4 separate regions of the Homo sapiens genome follow, and all the other regions are linked to region 1. Evidence: promoter capture Hi-C in 16 types of primary human blood cells and fetal thymus (Javierre and others, 2016). All regions are on one chromosome and are shown on one strand. Each heading gives the region's core, a stretch centred on a gene start or on the middle of the fragment in contact. The rest is flanking DNA. Distances are from core to core; before and after follow the strand shown.

Region 1 (2,700 bases), core at 154-2,653:
AGGACATGGCTCAGTTCCACCTTCAATCCACAGGGATTCTGCCTGTTAGCACGCTAAGGAAACTGTTTCTTACTTTAAATTATCCATTAATTTCCTCCAACTGAAAGATACTCTACAAATTTTCTGTTGTTGGAGGGTTTAAGCTTGGTCCCTCTGAGGGGGTGGGCCCTGCTGTGTCGGCCCCTTGTGTCTGCTCGTGGAAGGTGTGCCATGTGCCACCGTGTGCCATATGCAGCTGACACGCCTGTGCGTCTCGCCTGGCGCTGGAGACTGCTCTCTGTGTACTAAGCGAGTACTGGATCCCCAGGGCCTATCTTGCCCACTGCCTGTGGCAATACACAGGCAATACACAAAGCGCATTCAAGTAAGCAGGTCTCCCTGCCCCCCGGCCTCCCAGAACCTCGGTGCCTGGAGGGCAGGTGGGGGAGGGCGTTCCTGAATGGAGGCCGGTTTCCCTCTGCGGGGAGGAAACCCCATTTCCCTCCTACCCCTAGGCGCTTGCTACATCTGGCCCGGCATCAGACAGGAAAGAACCCTTTCTTCCCAGCTTGTAGGAAGTCTGAGCTGGGCCCCTTATCTACCCACAGCACTTCCTGGACCGGGGGCCTGGACCGGGCTCCGAAGGGGCTGGCTCCCGGTCTTGGTCTTGGCCTCGGCGCCCTCGTTTCTCTGCGCTTTGGGCAGGGGAAGCTGCGGACGGCAAGCTCTCGGCTTTCGTGAGAGCCTGGTGGAATCGGTGTTCCCCGAAGGCTACTCTGCGGGGGCGGGGGCTAGTCCGGGCCTTCCCGGCAGTATCGTCTCCCCCGTGGGGGCTGGGGAGGTGCCCCCAGGGCTCCCGGAGCGGCGGCGTGGCCAAGGCCCGAACCGGGTCTGACATCTAGTGGCCTCCTGGGCCCGGGCAGGGCGAGGGCGGGGCAGGGAAGAAGGTGGAGGGCAGAATGGGAGGCGTGGAGCGAGAAAATCAGGAAGCGCGGGACCAAGCCGGGGAAGGGCGGCGGGTCTCGCCCCTGGCACCCGCTCTCCTCGGGGCCCGTCCCATCCCCCAGGCCTGGCCGACCCCAGGTCCTTCCGTGCGCAGTCGGGGCTCGCAAGGACGAATCCCGCGGCCCTCGAGGCAGGCCCGGGGGAGCTCCCGGCCCTCCACCCCCGCAGGCCGCAGATCCCACGCACCCCCGATCATGGGGGCCCCGGAGGGAGGTCGCGAGGCCGGGCTCACGGTGGCCGCGGTTCGCCCACGTGCGGGCCCGGAGCTGGCAGGGCCCGGTCCCGAGCGTGGCCGCAACCGCGGGGACCTGGCACGTGCGGGGCAGCCCCGGGGGCCGCGTACGCCACTTCCGGTCCCGGAGACACCGCCCAGCCCGCCGCCCGGTTGCCATGGCGACGCCGTCGCGCCACGGCCCGCAGAACCGGCCAAGCGACCCGGGCGCGGCGCGGGGAGGCTGAAGGGACGCTCGGGTAGGCAAGGTAGGAGGCCGGGCTGGGGGTGGGAGCGGAGCGCGCAGGGGTGCGGGGCGGGGGCGGCCCAGGTGAGCCCTGACTGCGCAGGGAGGGACAGCGCGGGGCTCCCGAGTAGCAGCCGGCCTCGCACCTGCCCCTTGCGGCCGCGCACTGGACTGCGGCGCCGACCCGCACCCTGGGCCCGAGGGCTGCAGGGCTCGCCCGCCCTCTCGGAGCCGAGCCTCTCCCGGTCCAGGCGGCCCCTGCCCTGGCCTGCCCGGGTGCCGGGTCTCTGCTGAAGTTAGAACCGAGACCCCCGCTTGCTGGTGACCCCGAGTTTGGATCTTTGCTCCTGCGCCGCGTTCTAGAGCAAGGTAGGGTGCAAATGGACCAACCAGCCTTTGCCACGGCTGCCCTCTTGAAATCTGAAACCGGAGCCACCGCCTCTTGCCCCGAGCAGGGCCCGGGCTGCAACGTGGAGCCGCAGGTCCCCGCCTGTGTCTCCCGACGCCCCCAGCTTCTGAGCGCGAGGGTGGGAGTTTCCCGAGTGGGAAAGCCCCATGGCTTCGGTGGCCTCGGTGGCCCTGTGGTGGGTCAGGCCGGTGCCAACTGCGCTGAGGGCGGAGCTGCCGCCACCTTGACACCTGGGAGATGGCAGGGCCACCCTCCCTCCCTCCCTCCCTGCCCTGTCCCCGACTGTATCACGGAGCGAGGATCATCCGTGTGGATCTGGGGTCCCCTTCCCAGACTTCTCCTTTCTGGTCGTCCTCCTCTCATTCATTCCACCTTGGCAGCCTTTGTGGATTTTCTGACTCCGTAAATGAAGTTACATCTAGGGCGCCTAGATTCTGCCCCTTTGGTTTAATAGCTAATGAAAAAAAAAAAAAAAAAGCTTTGCCACCTCCTCTAGGTGCCTGGATTTCTCCCGGTGAAATTTGATGGAGGCAGGAAAATACGAGGCGGTGGCAGCCCCACCTCCTTGCATGAGGGAGCCTCCTAGAGCTGGAGGTGGAACCACCCTGCTTGTCCCACTCCTTTTCTTTCTTGCTTTATTGCTTTCTTGCTTTCCTTACTTTCCTTCCTTCTTTTTTTTTTGAGATGGAGTCTTGCTCTGTTGCCAGGAGGCTGGAGTGCAGAGGGCAATATCAGCTCACTGCAACCTCCATCTTCCGGGTTCAAGCGATTCTCCTGTTCCAGCCTCCCTAGTAGCTGGGATTACAGGTGTGTGCCACAACACGCAGCTAATTTTTGCATTTTTAGGAG
Region 2 (2,700 bases), core at 190-2,689, 370 kb before region 1:
GTTCTCCCCATGCCGGCCTGCGCTTCCTCCATGTCTGTTCTCCCCGTGCCGATGGCCATCAGTATGACGGCTGCTGCTTTCTGGATGGCGGTATCCATCTCCATGGCGACCACCATCTCCGTGACGTGGACTATCGCTATGCCGATTGCCAGTCTCTCCGTGACTGTGACGGCTGCTGCCCCGGTTCTCAGTATATCTCTCTCTTTTCCCGTTGCTGCCCCCAGTCCCTTCTCGGCTGTTATTCCCTGAAGCTGTGTTGTTGACTCCTTGGGCTCCGGCAGACGGGTAGGTCACAGGGGCACCACTGATGTTGCCAGTATTGCCAAAGCCTGGGATGCCCTTGGCGGCACTGGTGACGGGGCTGTCAGGACTGTTATGGCCCTGTTGTGCTGAGTTAGTTGGAACAGAATTCAAGCTCCCTGCACTAGTCCACCCACTTGCCCCAGCAGCAGAACTTCCAGCCTTCTGATTACTTAAACTGGCTGCAACAAAGTGACTCTTGTACTGTGACTGAAAGAGAAAGAGACATCAGGAGTAGGTAAGATAGCAAGTTCAAGAAACTTGAATATACAACTTGGCAAATGATGAGGTTTACAGAAACTCTGTGCTATCCTGGCACTGTGAGTTTAGTGTCCTGATGGCCCCACAGTATGGTCCCTTTTGTTCTTGTGCTATAAAGGAAAACTTGTGGATCTCTGTGGAGAGATGGACCCCCAGTGTTCTGAAATGTACTTTTATAGCCTGATTGGCTAGAATAAAGCATCTATGTATTTAGCACATTTATCTGCATTCAAAACCAAAAAGTTCTGAAAACTTAAAAAAAATTTTCATACTGCAATTTAAGTTTGACAGCAAAACCTGCCTTGAACTCATTCTATCGATTCACCTTAGTGTGACTATCAGTAAATTTTGCTTCAGAAGTGAGTTGGAGGTGGGTGCCTGGGAGGTGGGCAACACTTCAGGCTGTTGGGAAGGGAGGGAACACACACCCTGCTGCAGGACAACAATCCCAGGCCCCAAGTGTGACTCAAAGTAGACCAGCACAAGGGGTTCTCTAGATCAACTTGCATTTCCAACTAAGCTACTGTTAGGTTTATATTCAAAATCCAAGCAGCGTGAAGACCCTAAATCTAGCATCAAGCCTAGGCGCCCAGCTACAACCAGGAAAACTAAGCCCCTCTGTCACTGCCCAAGAGTTACTGCTGAAAGTGCTTTTAATGAAATGCTTATTTCAGACCTGGAAAGCTGCTTTCATTGCCGTTAGTCGATCTCCCATAGCTCCTGTGGAAGGCTTGTAGGCCTCATAATTGCTCATTACATTGTTATTTCCTCGATCCTAAAAAAATAAACACATCTATGAGAATGAAAAAATAAGCAGGAAAGCTCACTGCTATAGACTAGGCCTCATTATGAAAACCCTTGAAGTGGGAGCTACAAAGGAACTGGATACTTTTAGAAAGCTGCTACTGCTTTGTGAGAAAAGACACAGTGACAATCATTTAAAAATGCTTATGCCCTCAACCCAGAAATTCTATTTCTGGAAATTAACCCTATTAAACAGAAATGCAATCAGATTATGCCCAAAGTTGATCATGTATTTACATAAACACTTCCAATTAATTAAGTAAAAATTACGTTAAAGATGAAAAGGCCCTGAATAGCATATTGTGTGACTGCTCAGGCCCTGAATCAAGACCATGAAGGGTCTGAATTTCGGCTTGAACACTTGTCACTGTAACCTTAGGTGCCTCAGCATTGTTATCTGTACTAACTTCCATTCAGTTATTTTGAAGATTAACTGAGCCAAAACATCTGATTGCTTGGAATGGTCCTGGCACATATAAAGTGCTCAATAAATATTACCTATTATTATGCATCATCATCATTATTATTATAATGTGGGAACAGAGTATGTAATTACAAAGATGCCAAGTTTAATGCTCCAGAAAAGTATACTGGCAGCTTTCTTCCCTGGCTTGGAATCAAGGTGACAGAAAACAGGCAGTTAAGAAAGGCCACCAAAAGGGTACATTTGTTACCTGGTTTGTGAGAAAAACTAGCTCCCGACTTGGAAATTCCTGATCCGTTCCTGAGTTTAATGACAAGATATGGCTAGACTTTACAGTGACCCTTTGGCAACATTTACCTAGCAGCAGGCTTTAGGCCAGTGTTGAAGGGCTTATAAAACCAGACTGCTGGGCCCCAACTCCAGAGTTTCTGATTCACAAGGTCTGGGGTTGGGGATGAGTTTGCATGTGCTGCTGGTCCAGGGACCACAGTGTGAGATCACTGCTAATCTAGAATAATTTCCTGAGCAAGCCTAGTCAACCAAGTACACAAAGATGCTTCTTCAATAGAAAGTTACCATAAGAATGAGCACTGCATTGACTCAAATCAGATTAAATACAAATTCCCTTCTAGACAGGGCTTTAAACTCACTGAGGCTTTCCTGGGTAGATGAGAATATTCCTAATGACTTTCAGGACATGAGACCAACTATAAAGGCACTACTGTAGTAGTCTAGACTCACCATGTTCTCAGAGCCCAGGCCAGGCCGCTCCCTGTAGCCTAGGCCTCCTCCACCAATGTTCAGCTTTTTTCCTTTCCCTCCTTTGAATCGAGATTTCCGAAACCAGGCATTCTGCATTGAACAAAATTCAAGGTTAAGTCAAGGGAGGGAGAAAAGAACAGAAGAAGAGA
Region 3 (2,700 bases), core at 158-2,657, 390 kb before region 1:
ACAAAAACACAAAAAATTAGCTGGGCATGGTGGTGCGCACCTGTAGTCCCAGCTACATGGGAGACTGAGGCAAGAGAATCGCTTGAACCTGGGAGTCAGAGGTTGCAAGTGAGCTGAGATCGCGCCACTGCACTCCAGCCTGGGTGACAGAGTGAGACCATGTCTAAAAAAAAAAAAGGCTGGGACTGGGACTTACTACTTCTGATTCCCAGTACCTGACAAGGTGCCTGGCTGGCTCATGGTGCTCAGTACTGATTGTTGAATGGTTCATATGAGAAGATGCGGTAGCACTGTGTCCCAGCATCTTGGTCCACCTCCAGTTGTGATTGCCTTTCTCTCTTTAGCAAAAGCGAAAGCTTCGGATCTACATTTCCAATACGTTCAGTCCCAGCAAGGCGGAAGGCGATAGTGCAGGAACTGCAGGGACCCCTGGGGGAACCCCAGCAGGGGACAAGGTGGCTTCCTGGGAACTCCGAGTGGAAGGAAAACTGCTGGATGATGTGAGTTGGGGAGGGAGGTTCTGGAGGGAAGGAGGCCTGTGTGGGTTTAAGACTGAGACCAAGGAGTTTGATACTAGCCTGAGCAGCAGAGCCAGACCCCATCTCTACAAAAAATTTAAAAATTAGCTGGGTGCGGTGGCATGCACCTGTAGTCCCAGCTACTCATAAGGCTGATGCAGGAGGATGGCTTGAGCCCAGGAGGTCGAGCTTCAGTGAGTTATGATCACACCACTGCACTTCAGCCTGGGTGACAGAGTGAGATTGTGTCTCAGAAAAAAAAAGACTGGGCCAGACACTTGGGCGCTCCCAGAGAAGTCCTGCCATAGGGAGGGGGGCGCTGCTCCAAGCCCGTTGGAGGTTGATTTGTGTGGTTATTACAGTGTTCCTGCAGATGGCAGTCGAGTGTCTCGAGGAAGTCCCTCGTGGGCTGCAAGAGGGCACCATTTCCCTGCCTCCAGTCTGCCCAGAGTCCTGCTTCCATCCTTCAGGGCCCAGGAATCTTCAGTATCCGGAGCTCCAGGGCTGAAATGGGGCTTCTCTTTCTTGGGATTTAGCATAGCTTGAGATTTGAGAGCTCAGCAGCACCATCTCACACCCCTTTCCATCCCCAGCCTAGCAAACAGAAGAGGAAGTTTTCTTCATTCTTTAAGAGCCTCGTCATTGAGCTGGACAAGGAGCTGTACGGGCCTGACAATCACCTGGTGGAGGTGAGAGTGGGCCTGGGGCAAAAGCAGGCTGATGTGCAGGTTTGGCAGGGAAATGGCCTCAGGGCCCTTGGGAGGCCCTGTGTTCACGCCCACCCCCTTGGTGATAAGCCATGCTTCCCTCCCTGCCAGTGGCACCGGATGCCCACCACCCAGGAGACAGATGGCTTCCAAGTAAAACGGCCTGGAGACCTCAACGTCAAGTGCACCCTCCTGCTCATGCTGGATCATCAGGTGACAGAGACCCTGGGGTCATTTCTGGGCCCACAGGGACCCCTCAGGAGGGGAGCTGGTTCCTAGAAACCCTTCCTGTCCCTGCCCTATTTTCCCACTGTTCTACTATAAGAACCCGTTCTGACTCCCCTCCATCCAACTCCAGCCTCCCCAGTACAAATTGGACCCCCGATTGGCAAGGCTGCTGGGAGTGCACACGCAGACGAGGGCCGCCATCATGCAGGCCCTGTGGCTTTACATCAAGCACAACCAGCTGCAGGATGGGCACGAGCGGGAGTACATCAACTGCAACCGTTACTTCCGCCAGGTTAGCCAGATGCCAGCCCCCGTTTTCTCAGCCCTTGCTTTGCCTTGCCTGCTGGGCTACTCCTTGGCCACAGCCTGCAGACTGCTGCCCTCACTGGTCCTGGAATGGTCCACTCCACTGTGCCCACAAGCCAACGCTGAGCCTTTCGTATTTCCTCCAGATCTTCAGTTGTGGCCGACTCCGTTTCTCCGAGATTCCCATGAAGCTGGCAGGGTTGCTGCAGCATCCAGACCCCATTGTCATCAACCATGTCATTAGGTAAATGCAAGGAGGGGGACAGGAAGGCTCTTCTAAGAGCAGATTCACCCTTGGCTTGAACTAAAGCCAAAGAAAGCATCAGGTTTCTTTTTCCCTGAGTGTGTGCAGAGAATGGGCCCCAGATTTGGCCCAGGTGGGCAGGATGAAGTCAGCTATGTGCCTTCCCTCCCCATGTGCTGCCTGCAGTGTCGACCCTAACGACCAGAAGAAGACAGCCTGTTACGACATCGATGTGGAGGTGGACGACCCACTGAAGGCCCAAATGAGCAATTTTCTGGCCTCTACCACCAATCAGCAGGAGATCGCCTCCCTTGATGTCAAGGTGGGCCCTCTGGCTCCACAGCTTCCTCTGGGGCCCAGGATTGGGGTGGGCTGGCTCTGTCCAGCATTTCCATACATGTAGCACCTGGAGGACGGGATGGGAACTCTGGCTCAGTTGCTTGCATGTAAGCTTTGGGGGCACAGTCTGACACAGGTACCCTCTCCAGATCCATGAGACCATTGAGTCCATCAACCAGCTGAAGACCCAGAGAGATTTCATGCTCAGTTTTAGCACCGACCCCCAGGACTTCATCCAGGAATGGCTCCGTTCCCAGCGCCGAGACCTCAAGGTGTAGTCCTCTTTCCCGAGGGGACTCCTATGTAAAGCTCTGGGTGATTTTTACCCACAGCAGTTCCCAGGGTGGATTAGCCCAGG
Region 4 (2,700 bases), core at 101-2,600, 370 kb after region 1:
CAAATCCACAGTTATAGCCTGAGATTTCAATATTCCTTGCTGTTCAACAAGTAGAAAGAAAATCGGCAAGAAGATAGAAGACTTAAATAACACTATCAATCAACGTGATCAGGTTGACATTTATAGAACCTTCCACCCTAAAACAGCATAATACACTTTCTTTTAAAGCGCACACAGAACAGTTATTAAAATAGATCATTTCCTGGGCCATAAAACAAGTCTTAACAAATTTAAAATGATTCAACCTACAGAAAGTTTGTCCTCTGATCACAATGAAATTTAAGTAAGAATCAATAAGAGAAAGATATCTGAAAAACTTCCAAATGTTTGGAAACTACATCAACATACTTCTAAATAACACATGGGTCAAAGAAAAAATCAAAAGGGTATTTTTGAACTAAATGAAAATACTACTTATCAGAATCTATGTAACTAACTAAAGCAGTAAACAGAAATTTATAACACTAAATTCCTATATTAGAAGAGAAAGCTTTCATATCAATGACCCCAGATTCTACCTTAAGAAACAAGAAAAAGATAAAATTAAACCCAAAGCAGGCAGAAGAAAGAAAATAATAAAGGACAAAGTATAAATCAATGACATAGAAGACAGGAAAGCAATACAGAAACCAAATACAAAACTGATTCTCTGAGATGTATAAAACTGACAAATCTTTGTCCAAAATGATCAGGACAGTGAGAAAGAATACCCAAATTACCAGTATCAGAAATGAGAATGCTTACATCACTACAGATTATGCAGATATTAAAATGTTTCTCAAGAAGAAACACATAATTTTAATAGTCCTATATTTATTAAATAACTTGAATTCACATTTAAAAACCTTCCAGCAAATAAAATTCCAAGCCCAATTAGCTTCTGAGAAATTGTATCAAACAGTTAAGGATGAAATAATATCAATTCTACACGATGTAGCTTAGGAAACTGAAGAGGAGGAAACTGAAGTTGAAACTTCCAACTTATTCTATGAGGCCAGCATTATTCTGATATTAAAACCAGATAAAGACATTAGAAAACAAGAAAATGAAAAGTCAATATTCCATGTGAATATAGATGCAAAAATAATTTAAATTCTTAGCAAATCAAATACACCAACCATACAAAAACAAAGTCACAGGTCAGACTTGCCCTCCTTTAGAGCATTGTTTCCTATCATAATAGTCCAAATCAAATAAATAATGAAGCTATTTGTACCACATAATTAAGTAAACTGATCACGTTTTCTACTGGAGGTGACTGGCTTGGACATCAACTACTCTGGATTCTGCTAAAGAACTGACGACATTATTCTAACATCTCCTTTCTTACACATTATTTATCTTCCCTGTAGTTCAGAACTTTCTTTTGCTTACTATTTTATGTATTTATCACCATTTCAACCTTGAGACTCTCATCAGTTGTCTAAAACTTTTCTAAAGACAATTAATTGCATCAGGTTTCTACCAATCTCATTTTCCTGAAGACCACTCTTCTGGAGGCTTCTAACCCACTCCAATCTGAACTGCTAGCCCTCTATCCCCTTCTTTTTATTGTCATTCTGAAGGATCTTTCTGCTTTATTGACTTTCCTGTCTCTTGTAATTCATTTCTTTCATTTGGCTGACTTTTTCATTTGATGGATCACATCCTCCAACAGATTCCTTAGAAAGTGTATAAGACAGGCAGATTGTTTTTGAAAATGTATACATCTAATTCTATTCTTATATTTGAATAATAGTATCAATGCATATGGAATTCAGAGATTGAAAATTATTTTCCTTCAGAATACTGAAGATGCTGCTTTATTTTTCAGTTTCCAATGCTACGACTGAGAAGTGCAAAGCCAACTCATTCCCTCCCACCCCCCAGAAGCATGAACGATCTGTTTGGCTCCAGTGATTTCAAATTTCACCACAATGTGCCTTAGTTTGGATCTATTTTCATCCATTGTACTAAGCACAAAGTGAGCCTTTTCAATCAGGAAACTTTATGCTCTTCAGTTAAGAAAATTATCTTGAATCATCTTGATGATTTCTTTTCCATTTTCTCTGGTGTTTCTTTTGACAACTATTATTTGAATACTGAAATTCCTGGACTGATCCTGTGATTTTTCTTAACACTCCTCCTTCGTTTCTTATTTTTGTCCTTTTGCTCTATTTTTTCAGAGTTTCTTTCAGCACATTAGTCTCTGATAATTCTACGAAGCTTTTGGTTTTTACTATCAGAATTTCAATGCCTAAGAGCCTTTTTTAAAGTCATAATATCACTCTTTTATGTACTTCTTTCTTGTTTCATGGTTATTTTCTCTTATTTCTGGGGATAATAGTTCTATAATTTTCCTCTGCAAAAATGTATGTCTCTCCAAGTTGTTTTATTCCATTTAACTTCTATCTTTCATACATTTAGAGAGTTTCTTCAAATATCTACTCATCTTTGTTAGCTGCTCATATTTAAGGGCAGGGGACTGAAAAGCTGATTTGGAGCTTTGATACATGGAGTGAGCTAACTGGCCTGTTTATTTCAGGAATCTCTGATGACTAAATTTCCTCTTTCTTCTTTTATCTTCCTTTTTTTGGTCAGATTCTCCAGAAAAGACTTTTTTTTTCCAACCTCCTGCCTGAAATCTGAAGGTCTAACTGCCAGTATTCTGGGAGCCCAGTAGGAGAAAACAGGAGAGAGATATCTAAGGTCCAATTCTCC

Evidence for each region. The method cuts DNA at HindIII sites, captures the fragments that hold promoters and counts their contacts. A CHiCAGO score of 5 or more calls a contact.
Region 2: a fragment that was not itself captured here is called in contact with the fragment with the promoter of CYB561 in region 1 in 1 of 17 cell types (naive B cells); the score reaches 5.2 in naive B cells.
Region 3: a contact is called between a fragment that was not itself captured here and the fragment with the promoter of CYB561 in region 1, in 1 of 17 cell types (naive B cells). The highest score is 5.2, in naive B cells.
Region 4: a fragment that was not itself captured here is called in contact with the fragment with the promoter of CYB561 in region 1 in 1 of 17 cell types (M1 macrophages); the score reaches 5.5 in M1 macrophages.

Annotation. Positions count from the first base shown.
Region 1 is chr17:63,445,009-63,447,708 of GRCh38, reverse strand. CYB561 (cytochrome b561) reads left to right here and starts at 1,403. Exons shown (of 6, transcript NM_001915.4): 1 at 1,403-1,464. RefSeq lists enhancers at 1-3, 507-646, 4-817 and silencers at 787-976, 1,147-1,706. The HindIII fragment of the contact is 2,186 bases long and covers 146-2,331 here.
Region 2 is chr17:63,815,504-63,818,203 of GRCh38, reverse strand. It overlaps DDX42 (DEAD-box helicase 42), which reads right to left. Exons shown (of 18, transcript NM_203499.3): 16 at 2,531-2,641; 17 at 1,238-1,336; 18 at 1-510. Among named protein-coding and RNA genes, the nearest start is that of PSMC5, 11 kb to the left of the region's middle. The HindIII fragment of the contact is 2,959 bases long and covers 1-2,700 here.
Region 3 is chr17:63,833,212-63,835,911 of GRCh38, reverse strand. It overlaps SMARCD2 (SWI/SNF related BAF chromatin remodeling complex subunit D2), which reads left to right. Exons shown (of 13, transcript NM_001098426.2): 5 at 345-500; 6 at 1,112-1,207; 7 at 1,337-1,438; 8 at 1,584-1,745; 9 at 1,906-2,003; 10 at 2,190-2,325; 11 at 2,492-2,614. Among named protein-coding and RNA genes, the nearest start is that of FTSJ3, 6.9 kb to the right of the region's middle. RefSeq lists an enhancer at 710-869. The HindIII fragment of the contact is 2,098 bases long and covers 359-2,456 here.
Region 4 is chr17:63,076,309-63,079,008 of GRCh38, reverse strand. All of the region lies in intron 3 of TANC2 (tetratricopeptide repeat, ankyrin repeat and coiled-coil containing 2), which reads right to left. Among named protein-coding and RNA genes, the nearest start is that of TANC2, 110 kb to the right of the region's middle. The HindIII fragment of the contact is 1,715 bases long and covers 493-2,207 here.